7 separate regions of the Homo sapiens genome follow, and all the other regions are linked to region 2. Evidence: promoter capture Hi-C in 16 types of primary human blood cells and fetal thymus (Javierre and others, 2016). All regions are on one chromosome and are shown on one strand. The core of a region is centred on a gene start or on the middle of the fragment in contact, and the rest is flanking DNA. Distances in the headings are between cores, read along the strand shown.

What was found. The method cuts DNA at HindIII sites, captures the fragments that hold promoters and counts their contacts. A CHiCAGO score of 5 or more calls a contact.
Region 1: a contact is called between a fragment that was not itself captured here and the fragment with the promoter of CCER1 in region 2, in 1 of 17 cell types (total B cells). The highest score is 5.5, in total B cells.
Region 3: a contact is called between a fragment that was not itself captured here and the fragment with the promoter of CCER1 in region 2, in 4 of 17 cell types (M0 macrophages, M2 macrophages, naive CD8 T cells and 1 more). The highest score is 8.0, in M0 macrophages.
Region 4: a contact is called between a fragment that was not itself captured here and the fragment with the promoter of CCER1 in region 2, in 6 of 17 cell types (naive CD8 T cells, M2 macrophages, total CD4 T cells and 3 more). The highest score is 8.6, in naive CD8 T cells.
Region 5: a fragment that was not itself captured here is called in contact with the fragment with the promoter of CCER1 in region 2 in 3 of 17 cell types (total CD4 T cells, non-activated CD4 T cells and naive CD8 T cells); the score reaches 12.5 in total CD4 T cells.
Region 6: a fragment that was not itself captured here is called in contact with the fragment with the promoter of CCER1 in region 2 in 3 of 17 cell types (naive CD8 T cells, monocytes and M0 macrophages); the score reaches 8.4 in naive CD8 T cells.
Region 7: a fragment that was not itself captured here is called in contact with the fragment with the promoter of CCER1 in region 2 in 1 of 17 cell types (naive CD4 T cells); the score reaches 5.0 in naive CD4 T cells.

Annotation. Positions count from the first base shown.
Region 1 is chr12:89,511,535-89,514,478 of GRCh38, forward strand. The region is part of intron 2 of POC1B-DUSP6 (POC1B-DUSP6 readthrough); the gene reads right to left. The region is part of intron 2 of POC1B (POC1 centriolar protein B); the gene reads right to left. Among named protein-coding and RNA genes, the nearest start is that of GALNT4, 12 kb to the right of the region's middle. The HindIII fragment of the contact is 9,701 bases long and covers 1-2,944 here.
Region 2 is chr12:90,953,839-90,956,996 of GRCh38, forward strand. It overlaps CCER1 (coiled-coil glutamate rich protein 1), which reads right to left and starts at 1,338. Exons shown (of 1, transcript NM_152638.4): 1 at 1-1,338. The coding sequence starts at 904. RefSeq lists an enhancer at 247-346. The HindIII fragment of the contact is 2,103 bases long and covers 1-1,595 here.
Region 3 is chr12:88,998,452-89,001,656 of GRCh38, forward strand. No RefSeq gene overlaps it. Among named protein-coding and RNA genes, the nearest start is that of LINC02458, 20 kb to the right of the region's middle. The HindIII fragment of the contact is 2,413 bases long and covers 221-2,633 here.
Region 4 is chr12:88,971,753-88,974,850 of GRCh38, forward strand. No RefSeq gene overlaps it. Among named protein-coding and RNA genes, the nearest start is that of LINC02458, 46 kb to the right of the region's middle. The HindIII fragment of the contact is 1,571 bases long and covers 668-2,238 here.
Region 5 is chr12:92,657,804-92,660,900 of GRCh38, forward strand. No RefSeq gene overlaps it. Among named protein-coding and RNA genes, the nearest start is that of PLEKHG7, 44 kb to the right of the region's middle. The HindIII fragment of the contact is 973 bases long and covers 1,260-2,232 here.
Region 6 is chr12:89,481,483-89,484,729 of GRCh38, forward strand. All of the region lies in intron 4 of POC1B-DUSP6 (POC1B-DUSP6 readthrough), which reads right to left. All of the region lies in intron 4 of POC1B (POC1 centriolar protein B), which reads right to left. Among named protein-coding and RNA genes, the nearest start is that of GALNT4, 42 kb to the right of the region's middle. The HindIII fragment of the contact is 6,655 bases long and covers 1-3,247 here.
Region 7 is chr12:92,640,284-92,643,421 of GRCh38, forward strand. The region is part of intron 1 of LOC124902983 (a long non-coding RNA gene); the gene reads right to left. Among named protein-coding and RNA genes, the nearest start is that of PLEKHG7, 61 kb to the right of the region's middle. The HindIII fragment of the contact is 731 bases long and covers 1,347-2,077 here.

The DNA of each region.
Region 1 (2,944 bases), core at 385-2,884, 1.4 Mb before region 2:
AGTCCATTACTGAAAATAAACTCAGCTTTCTAGTTTTACCTGGTGCCATGACTTTGTACTTCATGCTGCATTTCCAGGTTCATGCTTGCCTTTGGGTCACAAAAGAAACACCAGACTGCTTTATTTGGGGGAAAAATAGGGAAATCTAAAGAAATCTATGAGAATGAGTTCTTTCTAAATATTTTTAAGAAAAGAAAAATAAAAGGCAATCCCCAGACATACATCCATAAACGTAGATGGGGCCTGGCATAATGGCTCACTGTAATCTCAGCACTTTGGGAGGCCAAGGCAGGTGAATCACTCGAGTCCAGGAATTTGAGACCAGTTTGGCCAATATGGTGAAACCCTGTCTCTACTAAAAATACAAAAATGAGCCAGGCGTGGTGGCGTGCACCTATAGTACTAGCTACTTGGGAGGCTGAGGCACGAGAATCACTAGAATCCAGGAGATTGGGGCTGTAGTGAGCTGAGATCGCAACACTGCCTTCCAGCGTGGGTGACAGAGTAAGACTGTCTCAAAACAACAATAAACCTAGATGGAAGTGAGGGAGAGGGTTGTACAATAAAAAGACAATATTCCAATCTTGACTAGACAAACTTTAATACTGTAATATGGTCAGAAGTAGTTTGTACTATGCAAGCACTGCATAATAATACAATTAACTGACAGCACTAACTTAAAATCCCTTTGCCTTGAATGAGGAAATAACTAAGCATATTTGCTTTCTAGCTGATACTAAGTAATTAGCTTGCTAGTATAAGCTGGGTCTAAAGGAGCTGTGGGTGCTTTAAAAAGTAATCTTTAGTAATGACAAGCTGAAGAAATTGAATTTAATTTATTCAAATTTCACATGTCTTTGAGGACTGGCAATAACAACAACAGAAACCTTTACTGAATTGGTACCATGGGCCTAGTATTTTTCAATACTGCGTAAGTATCAAGCCCAGGCACGGTGGCTCATGCCTGTAATCCCAGTGCTTCGAGAGGCCAAGGCAGAAGGACTACGATAGGCTAGGAGTTCAAGACCAGCCTCAGCAATATAGCGAGGCTCTCTACAAACAATTTAAAAAATTACCTGGGTTTCGTGGTGCATGCCTGTAGTCCCAGCTACTCCAGAGGCTGAGGGAGGCGGGCGGCTGGAGCTTGACCAGGAGGTCAAGGCTGCAGTGTGCTGTAACTGCATCACTGTACTCCAGACTAGGCGCCTTTATAAGTATTACTTTATTTAATCCTAACAACAAGGCAGATAAATATCATTATCTCTATTTTACAGAAGAGGAAACGAGGCTTAGTGAGGTTAGGTAACTGGTCAAGGTAATATAGATGAAAAGTGAAAAGAGCTCAATTTTTAACCCAGTTTTATAAGATTCCAAAGCCTAGGCTTTTAACCAATAAACCAGTGCTTCTCAAAGCAAAGGGAATTTATGAATTATCTTCATTACAGTTACTGGGATCCTTGTAAAAAAGACGTTATTTCTAGTAAATTATACATTATTTGGGGTGAGACCTGGGAATATAAATTTTTGACAAGTTTCTCACTGAATTCTGATGCACATTGAAATTTGAGAAACACTGCACTCTGTTACTACCTCTCAGTGTATACACTAAATTAGTTTAGCTTTTGTAATTTTTCAGCTTTTATAAATTTAGTAATTTTTTAAGCTATAATAGGAGAAGCTCCACAAAGTACCACATAGGCTGCCATCAAGAATTTGAAAAAAAAAAAAAAAAAGAATTCTTGGCAAACTTTTATTATGATTTCACTGCAGGGAAAGTAACTAAAAAGTTCAAATTTCAGTCTGCTTCTATTCAGTCAAAAAAGGAAAGATTAACTTGTTCTTTACCATCATTTGTTGTACAAGCACACCACATGTTACAGGATTGAATCAATGACAGGATAACCTTGAAGGAAATAGAGGGGGAAGTAACAACTTCAATGTTAAAATTATGTAATTTTCAACAGAAACTTCTAAAGTACAGCTCAGATTCTGCAAACCCTGTGAAAATACTTTAACAGGCTTTTACTGTTTGTTTAAACTTTAATGTGGCCCTCTGCGAAAGGGATGACTGGCCTAATGGAAAAGGGTATGGTTCTGAAATCAGACTCAAACCAGGCTCTATTAGGCTAGAGGTCCCCAACCCCCAGGCTGCGAACTGGTTCTGGTCCATGGCCTATTAGGAACTGGGCTGCACAGCAGGAGGTGAGCGGCAGGCAAGCAAACCTTAAGGCTTGAGCTCCAGCTCCAGTGAGATCAGCAGCGGCATTAGATTCTCATAGGAGTGTGAACCCTGCTGTGAAAATTGTCTTCCATGAAGCCAGTCCCTGGTGCCAAAAAGATTGGGGACCACTACTAGGCTCTGCTGCCTACTAGCTTTATAGTTTTGGGCAAGTTACTGAAATTTCAGCTTCCGCAACCATAAAAAGGGATGACAACACTTCACAGGCTATTTTGTTTTCTCCCATCCTCTTCCCTCTCATCACCTTTCCACCCATCCTGTGAAACCTAAGAGCCCCTATAATATGGTTTGGACTTATGACCCCACCCAAATCTCATGTTGAATTGTAATCCCCAGTGTTGGAGGAGGGGCCTGGAGGGACATGATTGGATCATAGGGGCAGAATTCCCCCTTGCCGTTCTCGTGATAGTGAGTGAGTTCTCACAAGATCTGGTTGTTTAAAAGTATATAGCACCTCCCCTTCTCTTCCTCCAGCTCTGGCCATGTAAGATGTGCCTGCTTCTCCTTCACCTACTGCCATGATTGTTAAGTTTCCTGAGGCCTCCCCAGCCATGTTTCCTGTATAGCCTGTGGAACTGTGAGCCAATCAAAACTCTTTTCTTTATAAGTTACTCAGTTTCATGTATTTCTTTTTTTTTTTTTTTTTTTTTTTTTAGACGAAGTCTTACTCTGTCGTCCAGGCTGGAGTACAGCGGCATGATCTCG
Region 2 (3,158 bases), core at 88-2,587:
CGCTCGCCTCCTTTGCATCACACACCTCCTGGTCATACTCCTCCTCATCATCATTTTTCTTCTCCTCCTCTTCTTCCACCAGCAGCGGGGCAAGAGACTGGTTTTCCTCTGGGTTGGGACTGAATGCTAGAGAGGGATTCTGCACAAAGCCATACAGAGTTTCCTGCAGTCCCCAGGTTTCCTTGCTGCCGCCAGGGGGCGCGTCGTTTCCGGAGGATCTGGCTGGGGAGGCCTCGCCGCTCACCGTGGCCTTCTGCGCCCGCAGCGCCTCCTGCTGACGCTCCACCTTCTCCTGCTGCCTCATGTCCTCGTAGATCTGGTTCATGATGAATTGGGTGGTGTTGGGCGGCGCTCGCATGCCAGGCTCTCTCCACTCATACAGCTTGACCGGCCGCGGCAGCGTGCTCACATCCGCTGGCGGGCTCCGCGGGTAGGAGTGGCGAGGGTGGTGGCGCAGGCCGCGGCCTCTGCGGCCCCAGCGCTTCTTCCTGCCTGGGGGCTTCACCCAGCCAGGGTTCCAGGACCCGCTCCAGCAGGAGCAGCAGCAAAAGCAGAGAGGGTGCAGGCCATACACCCGAAACACTTGCACCGGGCAGGGGAATTTCCAGAATCCTGGAGGGGGTGGGCGCCAGGGCCCTCCCCAGCACCCCCAGTTAGAGCACACGGGTGGTTGGAACCAAAAGCCCGGGCCGTGCTGTTGCTTCGGCTGCTTCCTTGGGGGCCCATACTCGGTCTTGGGGCTATATCGGTGCGGTCTATTGTACGCTGGAGCACCCGGGCGCCTTCGATGGCAGGACGACCAGGAGCTCAAGGAGGCCGAGTGTGCCCAGCCACAGCCACAGCCGCCGCCGCCACCGCCGCCCAGGTTCAGAGGGTCTTCCCTTGTGTCGAGGGTCTGAGTCATGGTTCAGGGAGCTCCGAGAGGTCCAGATGGTAGCGACCTGAAGCTGTCGTCAAGTTTTGCCAGGTAGGACGGTCAGAAGAGCCTCGTCTCGTCAACCTGTCTCTCCACGCAGCGCCACGTGTCTACCCCTGGGATCACGTTTTCCTCTCCAGGAGGCTGCTCTCTTCCTGGTTTGCACGCTCTTCGGTAGTAATCGCTTGTCCTTCGCACCTGGGTTGTCTCGCCCAGGTGTGCTGGGTGGGACTGGGGCTGGGTAAGGATGGTGGGGGAGGAAGGTGTTGGCAGGCGACACGCAGTGAGACCCACTCCCGGGTCCCCACCACACCCGGCTCTGCTGAGGCACGGGCTGGGGCCGGGGGAGGCAGGGGTTGCGCAGTTACCTGCTGCTCCCTCTCAACCCAGGTGCTTCACTGTCGCCGTCCTGGCAGGACTGTGGTGGCGAGGGCAGCGGCAGCCTTTAAATACTGGCTGTGGTCTCCCGCGTGCCCACTGCGTTCTTGGTCACCCAGGGCAACAGCCAATTGGGGTCGAAATCGTCCTCCCTGTGTGCAAGGCCGGGTTCTGTCCGGAACCAGGCTCCAGGTGAACATTCGCAGGGGGCTTGTGACGCAGCGTTTGGGGGAGGTGAAGAGGGGTCCAGGCTGGGTTTCTGCTGCTCAATTCAAGCAAGTCTGGAGGCAGTTTATCCGAAAGCTTTGTATCACCTTGAGGCGGGGGTTTAGAAGATGGGCCTTCATCTGAACCCGGTGGGGGCGGGAGAACTTGAGTTTTGAAAACCCCACATTCTACACCTTTGGAGGGCCTAAGGGATCATGGAAAATTACTGGAGAAAGGAAACTTTGCCCAACCTCTTACCTTCTGGCCGGTGCCAACTCTTCTTACTCCTGAGAATTGGGATTCATAATACATAAAACAAGACCACGAACATTTATTATTGCATGTGCTCACTGACAAATAATCCTGTCATCTACCCTGAGAGGTAGGCGTATCTTATCACCTGTCACAGATGAGGGAACTGAGAGCTTAATTTCCCCATGGTTGTGGGGCTAATAAATTTCCAGGCTACGATTTAAGCCTAAACCTGTTTGACCCAAAAGTTAGGTTCCTAATGACATTGCTATGTGTTCTACCAAACCCCCAGTAGGACCCTTGTGATAACTAAATGACATAACATTTGGGAAGGTACTTTGCTATTGGTAATATACCGTACATGTGTACCTCAATTAAACAAATATTATTATTACCATAATGAATACCACAGGTTTGTCCTTGGGAAGAGGAATATTCTGATTGTCTTTCCTTTTGTCCCTTCACTGACCATACAGCATATACACGGGAAGCCTTTAAAGCATTGTGGTTAAGCATATGGGTTTTAATTTAAATAAATGGGATTCAACTTCAACTCACCAATTATTAATCTCTGTAAGCCTCAGTTTCCTTACCCATACCATGATTATACTACCTTTTCCATACGGTTGTGTAAAGAATTAAATGCATATAACAGGTCCTCTAATATTAATGTTTTGCTCAATGTCATTTCCTTATAACGTTGCTGAGGCAAAACAACAACAATAACAAAACCACGTTTCATTATATGTCTTCTCATTTAAAAGTAGCAGTTTCCAAGAACCTATGATGCTAAGTGAGGACTTACTGTAATTCCTTCAAGTACTTAGTGCAGGTACCCTGTAAGTACTCAGTAACTGTTAACTATCATCCTTATTTGTAAATACTTCATGACTTCTAAAAGAGATGATATAGTATATGTAAAGGCACTTGTTCTTGATGCAAAAATAGGCATCCCCACCCTGGCTTGTGTCCTTTTCTTGTCCTTCTTTGTAAAACGTCAAGGAAAGTGCTACCATACTTGGTCCTAGAGAAAACCGTCTCAGTTTATATCCCTTTCTTACTTTTCTGTGCTGAGTGGAATTGCACAAAATGGAAAACTGCCTGCTGGGAACTTCAGTCTATATAAGGCTCCATTAAATGCCAGAAAAGCAAAATGTGTGAAAGCCCTGAAGCTGGCAAAGGTCATTTATGCATTCCTGGCTGAAAATTGAGAACATTATAGGGGGTCTTGGATCAGGACTCCAACATTTGCCCTGAGACCTGTAGAATCCACAGGCTTCATTTAATTTCATTTGCTCTGTGGTTTGCTGAGGACACCCCTGCTTGACTCAAAGTACAGAATGCTGACATGTTTAGCCTGCAGTATCCCTTTCTAGATATGGACTCACCTTTGGCAGTTATTCTG
Region 3 (3,205 bases), core at 177-2,676, 2.0 Mb before region 2:
CAAATGCAGATAGTTCCACTTAAAAGACAACAGCAGCAGTATGGAATATTTCCCTCTCAAATGAAACTAGAATTCACAGATGAAGAACAAAAACATTACTGTTATAACCTACAAGGCTGGTATCAGGAAATGTAGCTTACATCTGGCAGAGAAGTGGGTTTCATAATGTTGAACTCCGGAATTAGGCTGACTTACTCACAGTCAGTACTGGACCGATACAAGCTTCACACATGGGGAAAAGATTTTCATGACTAAGATTAATGTGGCCCATAATCTTGAGAGCAACTGGGAGCAGTGTCAGTTCCCAGATTCACTTGCCCAGTTCCAGACCCCAAATCAATAGTCAGGTTATTCTCTCCTTATTGGGAGGAGCGAGTGAGGGTGGATGGAAATGAAGTATCTGGAGCAAAAAAAAAAAAAAAAAAAAAAAGTTCTTCCTGACAATTTCCAGTTTTTATCTTAATCTACTGGGTTTAACCATTAAAAGTATAATCAGACAAGGAGAAGATCATTCTATTAGGGTAGCCCCATTCCTATGTTTACAAGGCCTCTTTCTAACACCAACCATTACTCCTTTGGGTTCTTCTTGGAACCACTGCTAATGTAGAGAGCACCCTCCAAAGTCAAGTGTAGAGTAAACTCTCAAAAGGTTCTGAACATGTCAGAGTGGTAAATTAGTTATGTTAGCTCCAAGCCCACTCCATATCAGTGCTGAAATTCACTGTCTATTTTGTCTAGCATCATTGTCCAATATGACTCATGAGAAATTAATATTCAAAGATTAAAGATATACCTGTCAAAAATCTAATTATTTTGCCATTGTGAGTTGAAGTTGAAATAAATGAGAAAGGAGAGTTTAAAGGGCAGCCTCTCTAATTTCTTATTCTACTCAGTCTACCAGCTAAAGGGGTTCTTAGCGGCACGGAAGAATTTAGTCTTTCAGAAGTTACATCTTGGACTGCACTCTTACAACTAATTTATTGCTTTCAAGGTCTCAAAATATGCATAATTTCAATAACACGTCTCACTTATTAAATGGCCTACAAGATTAATAGGACATGTAATATTATCACAGCATCTATTTCACACGTAAAAGATATAAGAAAAAATAATATCTACCAAATTATTTATTTCAGGCAAAATTATGTTCCTCAAACTGACTATTTTTAGTATCACACATCATAGCAAACCCCAATCATACCTGAGTTAAAAAAAATAGAGAGAAAAACTTGGTTTCAACTTCATCAGAATGCTAATAAATCTATGCCAGATGTTTAGTATCTACAAACTGTGAATTTAAAATCAAGTGGGAAAGATCTCCTAGCAAATGGTTAATGTAGGTCTATGCATTTGCCATTTGTGAGTTTCTAGGGGTGGGAGGCTTGGTCAGGAAAATTCATTTATGCTTATTGTTTTGTCACTCAGACTGTGGTATTTAAGATATTGCATCCTTCTTGCAATCTTTGGAAATTTTAATGGTGGCAGCCTATGAATCCAATTTGAGGCACCTTCTTTCCTGCCCAGAATATCCAACTGCTCACTCTTGTGAGCAGACACATCCATCCCAGTGCCCTCATAGGTTTTCTAATGCTGCTTGCTGTAGAATTGTGTAAGCCTGTAATATTGGCCTCCTAGGGAGGATTTTCCCCAACTCTTTAAATTCACTCATCCATAGAATTTGCCCTCAGCAGATTCCTGAAATGAAGCTATAGTTGTTTTCTGAAGTTGTGCCCCTAGGGCCATAATAAAGTCCAATAACTCAAATGCTCCTCAGGGGACTGTCTGTGTGTGTGTGTGTGTGCCCGCGTGTGTGCACTGGGCAAGTGAATTAATCCTCTCGTGTTTGATTTCATTCTATTATTCTTGTATGTCTTTTAGGAAGGTTCTAACCATCTCTCCTGCTTAATTTTCTCCCTTTCCTTCTCTACCTCATGAAGTACTATGATTTTGCTCGCCATGTCTTTTTGACAATTAAGAACAAACTGGTTTCATATCTCTTATTTTTAAAGAAATGCAAAACAGTATCTGGAGGAATATGTTTGAAAACAGAATGTCTGGGCCAGAAATCAAACTTTGAGCTTAAGTACCAATTGCTCAAACAAACCTTCCTCACCTTCACCTTCCTTGGTTGATGAATCTGAGCTCCTTTAGCTAAACTTTAACCTTTAACCAGGGCTGGCCTCAACTCACTGCACTACCTATTGAACCTTTAATATTTCCTCTTTGTTCTGCCTTCCTTTAGCATTTTAGATCCCTGATTTTCTCAGGAATGTTTACTCTCAGAATAAGCAATTCGTATATTCTCCACCTGTGGAATACGGTACCTTCAGACTCTCCCAGTCATTCTTTTAGTATGATGCTGATCTTTTTTTGCTCATTTGAAATTTGTCCAGATTTTCCTGCCACCACTCTAGATGGAGAGCTGTTACAATCTTTAAGGGGATCCAATTTTTAAACTACCCAGGGCAACATCTCAGTTGCCTCAGTATAAAAGACAAGACAGTAGCCAGTTGCTTTTCCTATATAATATTAAAAAGCTGCATCTCAACAGTGTCCCAAATCTGGCCTTCCCTGAAGCAATCATTCCAGTTTGCTTTCTAAAATTTTGCCTTCCTTTTTTGGGCCCCAATCAAAGCTTCTGACAGGGCAGTGCCGTCCTTCTCTTCTAATGCCTTCCATGAGCACTTGGTTTGGAATTCATCTCCATTTTCCTTAATATTTTTATATGCCTTATCCTTAAAATTTTCATTGTCTATTTTATAAAAGCAAGACTATTTCCTAGAGTCTACACTGTTTTCCTAAAGGAATTTCTCCTCTTCTAGCTAAGTTAGCCTATCTTTCAGTTTATGTGTGTGTGTGTGTGTCTGTGTGTGTGTGTGTTTTACTATGCCATGTGTCTCAAGCCTCTCCAATTTACCCTTGAATTCCTAATCAAACCAAACTAATAATCTACTCTCAGCATGAAATTCTGCAATTGTCTTCCTATTTAGTCGGCAATAATTTCCTTGAGTTCTTAGATTCCCTCAAAATGGCCTCTTTTTCTGGTGCCTGATCCTTCTTTTGTTTAAAAGTAATAATATCTACCACAGATTGGGTTTCAATTCTGGTCTGAACTTACGTTATTTTCAAGCCCAAAGCCAATATGAAAACATGACGAAAAATGTTTAACAACTGTCTGGCAGGGAGAAGAACCCTGATTTGTAGG
Region 4 (3,098 bases), core at 203-2,702, 2.0 Mb before region 2:
AATCATCCCAGCCTACCCTTGGGCATTCTTATTCATACCTTACAGTCTACCTGAGATGGTGCTTTTCATGCTCAAAATACTTTCATCATTAGCTTATTATTATTATGTATTTAATACATTAAATATAATATTTAATATTTAATCTTATTAAAAGAAAAATAAAAATCATGCCCAAAGTACATTTTGGTATTTTGAAACACAACCTAAGAATCTATTTTCCAGTCATCTTCCTGGAGCTAGCTGGATCATAGATTCAAGAATGGCTCTTGGAGGTCAAAGGTTCCAAACCATTCTCATTTTGTGAGAATAGTAAGTCACAGTCCATGATAGGATCTTGATACAACATTGCTAAATTCTACTGCATCCTGAATAGAGTGTGACATAATTGCCAGTATCATCCATATGGTTCCAAGTGAATCTTAACTGAATGCCAAAACCCAGAAGTTGTATGCTGAGTAGGTGTAAGATAAATGTCATTACCTGATCTGTGCAGTAGCCTCCCAGGCCTCTATGAGACATTAGTAGTGTTTGACTTGTTGTCATTAAAGACAAAAAAAGGAAACTTTATACAGTATGTAGTGGTTTTCCAGGTTCCACGCAGCACGCAGGTTGCAAAGTGAGCCCAGCCTTACACCTACCCCATTGCCCTCTCACTAATTATTCATCAAGCTTATTTCCCAATCTGACTCCTCATTTCCATAACCTATTTTCCTCTTCACCTTTCTACCTCTCTGCTCCAGTTTTTAATTTTTTTTCCTTTCTCATTCTCTAATGCAAAAGTACATTTTGTCCCTAGATAGCACATTTTATATATTCAGGTTAATATTATTAGACTAAAACATTCCTCTTTACTATCATTGATCCCTAAAGCAATCCTGAAATGGCAACCCATTTAAAGCAGAACTCCAGTCTAGATGCAAAGGCAAGAATCCCCCAGCTACAAAAGGGGTACACTTTTCATTGTATTTTCAATTCATGTTATTCATCTTAGAAGCTATAGAGCCTTTTAAGAGCCTTTAACTGTATTTCTAGTGTCAGAGAACATTTAACCAAAAAGGCAATCTCTTCCTTTACATTTATGTCAAATTAAGTACTTGGTGAAAGTAACAGCCCTGGACAGGGAATCATGTTCTCAGGTGCACGTTTCTAGCTTGATATTGGCTGTGGGCTCACAAGCAATTTATTAAATTTTTAAAGCCTTGGTTCCCTCATCTGTAAGATGGGAATCCTAAAATGCCTACATTACTATCACTGGGCAAGTAAATGACACAATACACAGTTCCTTGCACATAAGGAAGACTTAAGAAATTAGTCACATTATTATTAGCATTATTATTATCATTAATAATACATTAACATTTACATAATGAAAGATTCACCAGCTAAAAAATAAATCTCCATGCGATTGGTTCAGTGTCCAAAATACAGGCTGGAAAAGAGAATCAGAAGGCAGGTGCTGGTTTGTGAAACTACAAATCCCAGAGAATAACAAAGTGTGATGAATAAGTTACGTGGTTAATAAACGTAGTTTGTGATTTGGTTAAATACGTGCCCCATTCTCAGGGACTCGGAGAAGAAATTCTATTTTGATTATCCCAGTTTGAATAGGAAACACAAGATAAATGGTTGATTCTTTCCCTTTATTTACCAGTTTAGCACATCGAATGTGATTAATAAGTTCCATAAATCTATCTTAATTTATAGGCATTTTCATTTTATTCTCTTGATACCTATTTGTCAGAAAGACTGAATCATTAGATCTTTTGAGATCTTTAAAATTTCCCTCAGTCAGGATTTTTCTAATTGCATCCCTGTGGTGTCATTAGGAGATTCCCATGTTCTCTATTTTTTCTGTCAACTGTTAAATCTAAGGCATGATCCGATTCAGATTTGATATTTTTTTTGCAAGGCTACCTTAGAGATGATGCACTGTTCCATCAGAAGTCACGTTGTCTCTCTTTTATTTTATAAGCTGTAATTGATGCCATGGTCTTGAGCCCTAATGGGGATCACTGGGGCTGGGGAAGAATGAGAAAAATATTGCAATTCTATCATTTCTTCACTTATTTCTTAAAATATTTCTATAATGAGAAACTTTCCCTTGCTTTCCATTTGGTTACTTAATGGTACAACATAGGAAACATAGGGTAAATGCTTAATCCTTCTCCCAACTTCTAAATTTTAAAAAGAATAAATTGGTTCTCCGCATTCTGAAGCTAGTACATTTTGTTGATGGTAAGCTTTCTTTTTTTTTTTTGGATAAGTATTATTATGAACCCATTGATTTAAATGTATTTAGTATTAAAGTCATTGCAGCTTACATCTTTATTGATAATCAGATTGCTTCATCTTTTTATGAAGTTGCATTTATTGTAATATATGGATACAGGTCCAGTTACTGAAAGAATAATCAGACAAAAATCAGCAGATAAAAAGAAATTGTAAAAATGATGACTAAGAGTTTACGTAGTCTTATATATAAAACACTGCTCAAACAACTATAGAATATATGGTTTTTCTTGTATAATTGGAATTGTTTTCTCTTTTGCCAGTGGATCTTCTTTAGGTTGATTCCTGAATCTTTTTAACACTACCTTAATAGTGTTTAATAGCCTCCTTGGTAAAATATTTCAAACTCATCTTGTACATTTCCTGTCCCAGGAATTGTGGTTTGCTTTAGTGGGAAATAGTATTTCAGAATAAAAATCCGAGTGTTAGAGGGCTTATTACTCTTTGGTTAACCATGGTTTCTAGGCCTTTTCATTAGACTAAGCTAGGAATTATTTTTAAGATAAATCACATCAAAATCCCTACTATATCTTCCAATTTAAATTCAAGACTACAGGATTTTTACTTAACCTCTTCTATCTTATTTCTGTGTCTCCTTTCTCCTATTTTGAGGATGACAAACCTGGCTCTCAAGGACACAGGGATAACTGAATTAAGCCATCACATAGCTACTCATTTGTCTGTTTCCAGATTATCACACAATAGTGGTAGAATAAAACACCTACTCGACCTGCAGTATTACTACAGTCACGTTACTGGGTTTTAAAACCATTTAGAATACTTCTTCACCATGTGGCTATCCCACAAAC
Region 5 (3,097 bases), core at 496-2,995, 1.7 Mb after region 2:
AACTCCTGACCTCAGGCGATCCACCCACCTCGGCCTCCCAAAATTCTGGGATTGCAGGCGTGTGCCACCACGCCCAGCCCTGGTTTCTGCTATTACAGATGGGAGTTAGTGCTCACCTACCCCATGCTCCCATTGTAAGTGTGTCACTATTTTAAGCAAATGCATTTTTCTAGTATGATGATTATTTAAATACTGTTCCTGGAAAGGCCAATCTGTTTGCTAAGAATAAAGCCTAAATGGGAACCTAAAAGTGGAAAAACAAAGGCTGGGAAATAACATGGAGCTATGAATAAGATTAAAGTACATACTCTACCAAAAAAAAAAAAAAAAGAGTATTTCTCTGGTTCCATGAATAAACCATTGCTTAAATCATTCTCAAACTATAATGTGTATAAAATTCACCTGGAATCTTGTCAAAATGCAGATTCTGATGCAATAGTTCTGGGTAGGGCCTAAGATTTTGCGTTTCTGACAAACTCCCAGGTGACACCAATGCTGCTATTCTATGAACTACAGTTTCAACAAGGTCTTACCCGACGGCTTCCAAATTTCCTTCTCCTTTTCCTTCTCCATGGAGAGCCCTCTTCAGAGGGACTCTTAAGAATTATCTCATCCTATTCCATTTATTACTCTACAGGGAGAGGCAACCTAACCTGGCTTTAACCATAACTACTTGCACAATGAGGAGGAGCAGATTTCCCATCTCTGATTCGCAGATGGGAAACACTGTGGCAGGTAAGGGATTTCATCAGGGCTGCATGGCAAGTAGCTGAATTCCGTAACATATGAAGAATTGCTTCCATTTCTACATTTCTTGTTAAAAGACTCAGAGGATGTTGAGCACTTAGAAACAAGCTGAAGAGCATGTCTGGCCTGAGCCCGATGAAAGTCAGAGTCAATAGCGTAAGCAAAGGACCAGGCACATTCCCTGTTCCTTTCCCTGGTCTCTGCTTCTCATTTCTTAATCTTTGCTCATACTCAACCAGGCTACCAGCAATCTGGAGACACATATGGATGGAAAAGATGCCAAGGGAAGCCCTCCCCTCCTTCCATGATTACTGTCCTTCATTGCAAAAGAAACTCTTTTTAAATATGCCTGGAAAGCAGTACCTGTTGTTTTTTATGTGGGTAAAGGCCAGTGGTATGCTACAAATGTTTAACAACTGACCATCAAAAAAAAAAACAAAACAAAAAGAGGCCCTCTTTTGTAGCATTTGCCAGTTTCCATGGTGTAAATACTCTCACTCTGGCCAATATCAAGCTTCCAACATGACTTTACTGAACATGGAATTAGAAAGATATGAGGCCAGTGACTCTCACAAGCTAGTATGAGCCGGCCGCAGTTCATCATGATAAAGCCTATAATTTTATCATCAGGCAAAATTAAAACTGTAGATTCAGAAAAGATTTACACCTGTTTGATCAACCTTCTCATCATCACGTCCCTTTACTACCAAAGTAAGTTGACCTGCCATTGCTCTTTAACAGTTGGTAGTTTTTCTTTAATGCAAGGTATTTAGCAGAAACCACCACATAAATTAAGCCCTTGTCCTATAGATAGCTTTTACAAAGAGCTTTCCTTGATCCCTATTGAATTATTGCCCTGGACCAGAGAAATACAATGCCCTTCCCAACAGTTTAATGTATTTAGTAACCCTCTGGAAAGAGAAAAATAACAAAACAAAACATTACAATTTTACATGTTGAAATTAAAATGAATCAAAACTTTTTTTTTTTTTTTGAAACAGGGTCTCACTCTGTTGCCCAGACTGGAGTGTAATGGCCCATTCATGCCTCACTGCAGTTTCAACCTCCTGGGCTCAAGCAATCCTCCCGCCTCAGCCTCTTGAGTAGCTGGGACTACAGGCACATGCCACCATGCTCAGCTAATTTTTTGTCTTTTTAGTAGAGACAAGGTTTCACCATATTGCCCAGCCTGGTCTTGAACTCCTGGGTTCATGTGATCTTCCCACCTTGGCCTCTCAAAGTGCTGGGATTACAGGCATAAGCCATCACACCTGGCCCTCGAACTTTTTATTATGTTCTAGTTATACATTGTATGAAACTTTTTCAGGCATTGAAATAAATGCCTTTATACCACTTAAAGGAAATGAGAAAATTTTTTGTACAAGAACAAAAAGATCATATGGCTGTGTTGAATGACAATATTTCTTAAAAATTTATTAGTGATCAATTTCTATTCATTTAAGAATAGTTTGAAGTTAAAATGTAAGCTTTAGGAGATATGTATTCTTTGACAGATTTTAAGGGTTATGGAAATCAAAACAAGTTTGGTAAGTGGCTATAGTAGATTGCCAAAATTTTCACAAATTATTCCCTTCCTTAACAGCTACGTCCTTTGCAATATAGCTTTGCAATTTCTCCCATCAACAGGTGGAGTTGGTCTTGTGCCTTCTTTGGCCAATGGAATGTGACAAAGCAGCATTGCAGTTCAAGCCTAGGCTTTAAGAGACCTTTTGGGATTTCCTAATTGCTACAAAAAAAACCTGACACCAGGTGAGTAAACCCAGGGTAGCCTACTGGGGGATGAGAGACCACCTGGGACAAAGATGAACCATCCCAGGTAAGCTTTGTACCCCAACCACCACGACACACCAGCCAGGCTCCAGCTGACCTAGCACCTTCTCACACCTGAGCCCAGCTCAAATCGCCAAACCACAAATTCTTCCAAAATGGGATGTTGATTTACACCAGGGGTATCCTATCTTTTGGCTTCCCTGGACCACAAGGGAAGAATTGCCTTTGGCCACACATAAAATACACTAAGGATAGCTGATGAGCTTTAAAAAAATTGCAAAAAAAATCTCATAATGTTTTAAGAAAGTTTGCAAATTTGTGTTGGGCCACATCCAAAGCCATGCTGGGCTGCATGTGGTCCCGTAGGCCATGGGTTGGACAAGCTTGATTTATGCCATTGAGCTTTGTAGTGCTTTAATAGCTAAAACTAATTGATATAGTCACCTATATCAGGAAATACTCAAAATACACCCCAACCATATGCTGTATGTAGACCTTTTTGGAGGCTGATTGAAACCAAACCAACTTCTTAAGATAACTGAGGAAATTTAAAATGGTA
Region 6 (3,247 bases), core at 260-2,759, 1.5 Mb before region 2:
TACATGGAAGTAGAGCCCAAGGAGATAACAGCAGTCTCACTGGGCACAGGAAACAGAAATCAGAACTCAGGGCTGCTAATGGGCTGAAATTTTGAAGACAGGGTACAAGAGAAGATTTACGAAAAGCAGAATCCCCAAAAATTCTGCATTGGAAAAAAAATTTACAAGGAACCCCCTTGTATATAATACAATTCCCTTTGTATTGTCAAATACAAAGCTGCCCGTGCAAAGGCAACAAGGCTTGGCAGAGAACAACTACTGGGAGGCTGTGAACAGAGCAAAGATTACAGAGGTTACACAGAACTGAGAGATGCTCAAGCTCTGACCAGCCTTTTCTGAATACTCCAGGTATTCATTTGAAATTCTAGAAGGGCCAGTGGCACTACAGCCCATGAGTAAAGACTACACTAGATCCACCCTACACAGGCTAAATCCAAGCCTCAACAGAATCTCTTTATCTCTTTGGGCAAGCAGAAAGTTAATTTCATACCAGAACAAAACTTAACACTCTTTAGACAACGACAGCATAATCTAAACTCAAAAATTTAGCCATGTTTGGACATACAATTAAAAAATCACAGGACATATGAAGCAGCAGAAAAATTTGACCCAGATATGGCATAGATGTTGGAATTAGAGCTGTAAAACAATTATTATAAATATGTTCAAGGATTTAAAGGAAAAGACGGGCATCATGGGCAAACCAATGGAGAATCTCACCAGAGAAATGGATACAGTTAATTGGATCCTACAGCAGAACAGACCAGTGAACTTGAGGATAAGGCAATAGAAATTATACAAACTAAGCACAGGGAGAAAAAATGGAAAAATATGAACAAAGCCTCAAAAAACTGTGGGACAATATCAAGTGGTCAAACATACATGAATCTGGAGCTTCAGAAAGAGATGAGAAAGAAATTAGGGAAGAAAAATATATGAAGAAAGAACAACAATTTTTACAAATATGATGAAAAAATATCAATCCATAGATCCAAACAGTTCAGTGAACCATAAGAAAAATAGATAAAACCATACCTAGGCCCATTATGGTCAAATTGCTGAAAATAAAAGATCTGAGAGCAGCAGAGAAAAAAGATACATTATATATAGGGGAATTACATTAAAATGATTGCTGGCTTAACATTAAAAAATGCAAACTAAAAGACAATAGAATGACATCTTAGTCCATTCAGGCTGCTATAACAAAATACTGCACACTGGGTAGCATATAAACAACAGAAATTTATTTCTCACAGTTCTAAAGGCTAAGTTCAACATCAGAGCACCAGCAGATTTGGTGTCTAAGGAGGGCCTGTGATACAATTTGGCTGTGTACCCACCCAAATCTCATCTTGAATTATAGTTCCCATAATCCTCACTTGTCATGGGAGGGACCTGGTGGGAGGTAATTGAATCATGGGGGTGGTTACCCTAACGCTATTCTTTTTTTTTTTTTTTTGAGATGGAGTTTCGCTCTTGTTGCCCAGGCTGGAGTGCAACGGCTCACCTCAACCTCCACCTCCCAGGTTCAAGCAATTCTCCTGCCTCAGCCTCCCATAGCTGGGATTACAGGCATGCTCCACCACGCCCAGCTAATTTTTTTTTGTAATTTTAGTAGAGACGGGATTTCTCCATGTTGGTCAGGCTGGTCTCAGGTGATCCACCCACCTTGGCCTCCCAAAGTGCTGGGATTACAGGTGTGAGCTACCATGTCCGACATGCTATTCTTTTTATAATGAGTGAGTTCTCACGATATTCGATAGTTTTATAAGGGGCTTTTCCCCCTTTTGCTCAGCACTTCTCCTTGCTGCCACCATGTATTTGCTTCCCCTTCCACCACAATTTGTAAGTTTCCTGAGGCCTCCCAGCTCTGCGGAACTGTGAGTCAATTAAACCTCTCCTTTATAAATTACCCAGTCTCAGGTATGTCTTTATTAGTAGTGTGAGAACAAACTAATACAGCCTGTTTCCTGGCTCATAAATGACACCTTCTTGCTGTGTCCTCACATGGTGAGAGGCAAGGGTCTCTCTGGGGCTTCTTTTATAAGGGCATAAATCCCATTCATGAAGGGTGTGCTTCATGAGCTAATCACCTCCCCAAGGCCCCATCTTTTAATACCCTCACCTTTGGGGTATGGATTTCAACACATGAATTTTTTGGGAGACACAAACTCAGACCATAGTAAATGACATCATTAAAGCACTAAAAGAAAAAATTATCTGCCAAACTAGAATTCTACATCTCAGCAAAAATATCCTTTACAAAGGATAAACAAGAAGTTGAGAGAAGTCATCCATCACCAGGAGACCTTCACTACAAGAAATGGTAAGTGCAGTGTTTTAGGCAGAAAAGAAATGATATCAGATGGAAACTTGGATCTACACAAATGAATAAAGAATGCTGGAAGTAGCAAATATGGGGGTAAATATAAAAGACTTTTTTGTTTCTTATTTTCTTTAAAGAAAATTGGCTGCTTAACATATTGTGAGCTTACGCCATATGCAGGTGTAAATGGTCAAGAAGTAAATGGAGATATAGTTCTATAAGTTCTAACATTATACATAAAACAGCATAAAATTAATTCAGGAGTAGACTGTGACAAGTTAAGGATACATATTGTAATCTCTAGAGGTTACCACAAAACAAAAAAGACAAAGAGTAAAGCTAAGAATAAAATAGATGAGTAGAATACTAAGAAATAGTTGATTAATCCAAAAGGAGAGAGGATAAAGAAATAAACATGTGGGACAAATGGGATAAAGAGAAAACAGTAAGATGGTAGACTTAAATCCAATCACAGGACTGATTACATAAATTTAAACAGACTAAGAACTCCACTTAAAAAGCAGAGATTTTCAGACCCAACTACTTTGAAATAAAAGGACGTTCTTTTTAAGTTTACTACACAACATACATTTAATAGATGATAGTAGCTATCTATATTAGCAACCCCCAAAACTATGTGCAAATATGTGAAATGACTTTTGAATATCAGCTGACAGTGGCTCCAGTATAATCCCTAGGGGGAGGACTGGCATGTGAGGATAGTTAATAGCTGACATTAATTGGCACTTTACATTCATTAACTCATTTAATCTTCACAGTGACCTTATAAGGAAGGCACTTCCATTGTACTCATTTTATATGAGAGCAGACTAATGCCCAGAGAATGTGATGTGCCCAAGTAACATGCTAGTGAGCCCAGGCTCTTAACTACTCTGTGCTGCCTCTCTGCTGAAACTAATC
Region 7 (3,138 bases), core at 462-2,961, 1.7 Mb after region 2:
TGAGATAGGAAATGGTAGATCCAGAGATGGCTGTTTTTTGTAGGTTTGTAGTCATTTTAAAACCATATATATAAAAACATTATATACATAAGCTATATTATATATATTTTTTATAAAAATTAAAATAAGTATAGAAATTTTTGCTAGAAAAATCTCTTTAAATTTGCGTTGCTATTATTACTAACTCTTTGTGCCAGGTATTTGGCTTTTTCTGTTACATAGTCAACCGTATTTAATTTTTTCACTCCCTCTCTCTCACTCTGACAGATACACAAACTTAATACTCTACATAGGTTATATCACTTAATCTTCACAATATAAGAATTCTTATTTAGATGAGTTTCCAGATAGCTGATGATGAAAATAGTCCCCTAAATCCAAATCTTCCTAAATTTCCTCCAAAAGCAATATGAAATAAAAACAAATAAAACTATTCAAAACCCACACCTTCAGCAAATAGAAGATAGAAAATGCCCAAACCTCAAATTACCTATACATAGAAAAAGCAACACCAAATCCCAAGGAATTATCTCTCAACCTCCTGCAAGTCCTAGTAGAGAGCAAGAGCTGACTAGAAAAAGTGCACAGAAAAGTGGAACTGGCAGAAAGCCTAAGACTGATGTAACTCACCTCCAGAAAGAGCAAATCTACTCTAAGGGCATCAATCCTGAAAGATATCTGGAAGCTCAGAGCAGTGGTCACAGGGAGGGACATTAAGAGTGTGTGCCATTCTAGGTGGCAGTGCTCAAAAGATATCACTTACAGTGGAGAAAAAGCAAATTTGAGTAAATAAATAAGTAGAATGCAAATAAAGGAAGCCAGGTTTCTCACTGTCCAAAAAAGGAGGTACAAATCCAAAATGAACCTTGCGGAATTGGACTGGAATTGGAGGTACTATGACTTTGCATATACGTGGATAGAAAGATATAGAAAATGATATGGAAGTGTGTGTGTGTGTATATATACATATACACACACATATATGTACGTGTGTGTATATATATATCAGTCTATGTATATATAATCATATATATATATATCATCAGTGTGTATATATATAAATATACTTTTGCACCAGAAAGTAAGAAAATGCTTAAAGAATGACAGCAACGTGCCAAAACAACACAGGACTCAGACTGAGAAGACATCACTGGCCAAATCTGAGAATAATTTGAGCAAAAATAAATAATGACATAATAATGGTTATAATGGAAAAGATCTGCCTTGCATTAGAATGCAAATAATAAATCTGGAAAGAATAATAGAAGTTATAAAATCAACATGTGGCAACCATCAGAGTAATAATTGATTGCCACAGATTGTCAATGGATGCTAAAACTTGTGAAAGCTTGATGAGAATAGGATATTTTGGTAAATGTTCTCAAAGTATCTCCCCACAAGACAATTATTGCAAAGGAAAAAAGTGGTAGTTTCATAGTGGAGAAACCTGGCAGATACCATCTTGATACATCAGAGTTATCAACAGTTGTGGGACAAACTGACTTATATGGAAGGGCTAAAAAGAATTTAATGCAAAAATGCATAACCTCAAAAACATCAGAAAAAGCCAAATTGGGAGGTATTCTATAAAATAAGTGGTCAATTCTCTTCAGAATGTCAAGGTCATAAAAGCAAATAATTCCTAAGAAATTGTCATAGATTAAAAATCACTAAAGCTAGCAGGTGATCCTCAACATTATTGGGGCAATTGACAACATTTAATTAGATAATAGTATTACATCAATGTTAATTTCCTAATTTTGATAACTCTTCTGTGGTTATATACCAAAAAAAAGTGTATTTATCAGAAATACACACTAACATACTTAGGGGTAAAGAAAATTCTGTAATTTACTTTCAAATGGTTTGAAAAATATATAAACACAGATACAGAGAGACTGAGAGAATGACAAAGTAAATGTAAGTATTATTAACAACTGGAACATATGGGGTGCAGTACACAAGGATTCTTTGCACCATTCTTGCAACTTTTCTATAAGTTTGAAATGATCGCAAAATTAAAACATTTTTTAAATAAAGGAAAATTATTTAAAAATCTTCATTTGGCAAGAAAGAAAGCTTTAAATTAGGTTGGGTTCTGCACGTGGTTGCACAGGTAGTAGGCCAGAAAGCAAGGAGTTGAAACCAAATCTGCCCCTTGCTCTTAGCCACCACAGCATACTGCCTACTCACAGACAGCCAAGTCCACATATTAGAAAGTTTCATTCATATTAAATGTCCATAATAGGCAAATATATAGAGACAGAAACTAGATTAGTGGTTGCCTAAGGCTGGGAGCAAGAGAGGAAATGGGAAGATGAGAGAGTGATAACTAAAGGATGCAGGATTTCTTTTCAGAGTGATAAAAATATTCTACAATCGATTATGGTGATGGTTGCAAACTCTATGAGTATATTAAAAACCATTGAATTGTACACTTTAGGTAGATGAATTACATGGTATGTAAATTATATGCAATATGAATCACATCTTAATAAAGCTGTTACCAAAAAAAAACCCAAAATTTACAAACGCTGAGAACTTTGTATTTCTGAATAACATTGTGACATTCAACTCTATTTCATACACAAGTAACTTCTTCGGAACAAGAAAGAATCATGCTGATGAAACCAACCCAATAGTCCCATAGGCAGTTTTTTTCTTGGAAAAACATAAAAATTGACCCTTTGGGTCTTCATGTTTGAAATTTCATTTGTTTTATCTGAGTTCCTTCTTCAGGAAAGGACTCCCAGACCTCTCAAAAAGTATCAAAAAATTAAAACTCACCAGATCATCGTATCCAGACAATGAGACACCAGACCCCTCATTCATCATGATTGCTTCCTTGCCCCTCCCTAGTTCCTGTTTTCCCATACATTTCTTCCCTGCTATATAAACCCCTAATTTTAGTCAGTCAGGGAGACGGATTTGAGACTGATCTCCCAACTCCTTGGCTGGAGCACCCAATTAAAGCCTTCTTTCCTGGCTATGTTCATCGTCTCAATTATTGGTTTTCTGTGTGGTGGGCAGCAGGACCTAGGCCAAATCCCTGGTGTTTTGGTAACACTGGCACCAAAAATAACGGTGAACTGCTGCACCATTCATCATTAAAGCACAGAGCAGCCCTTGACTGAAGCT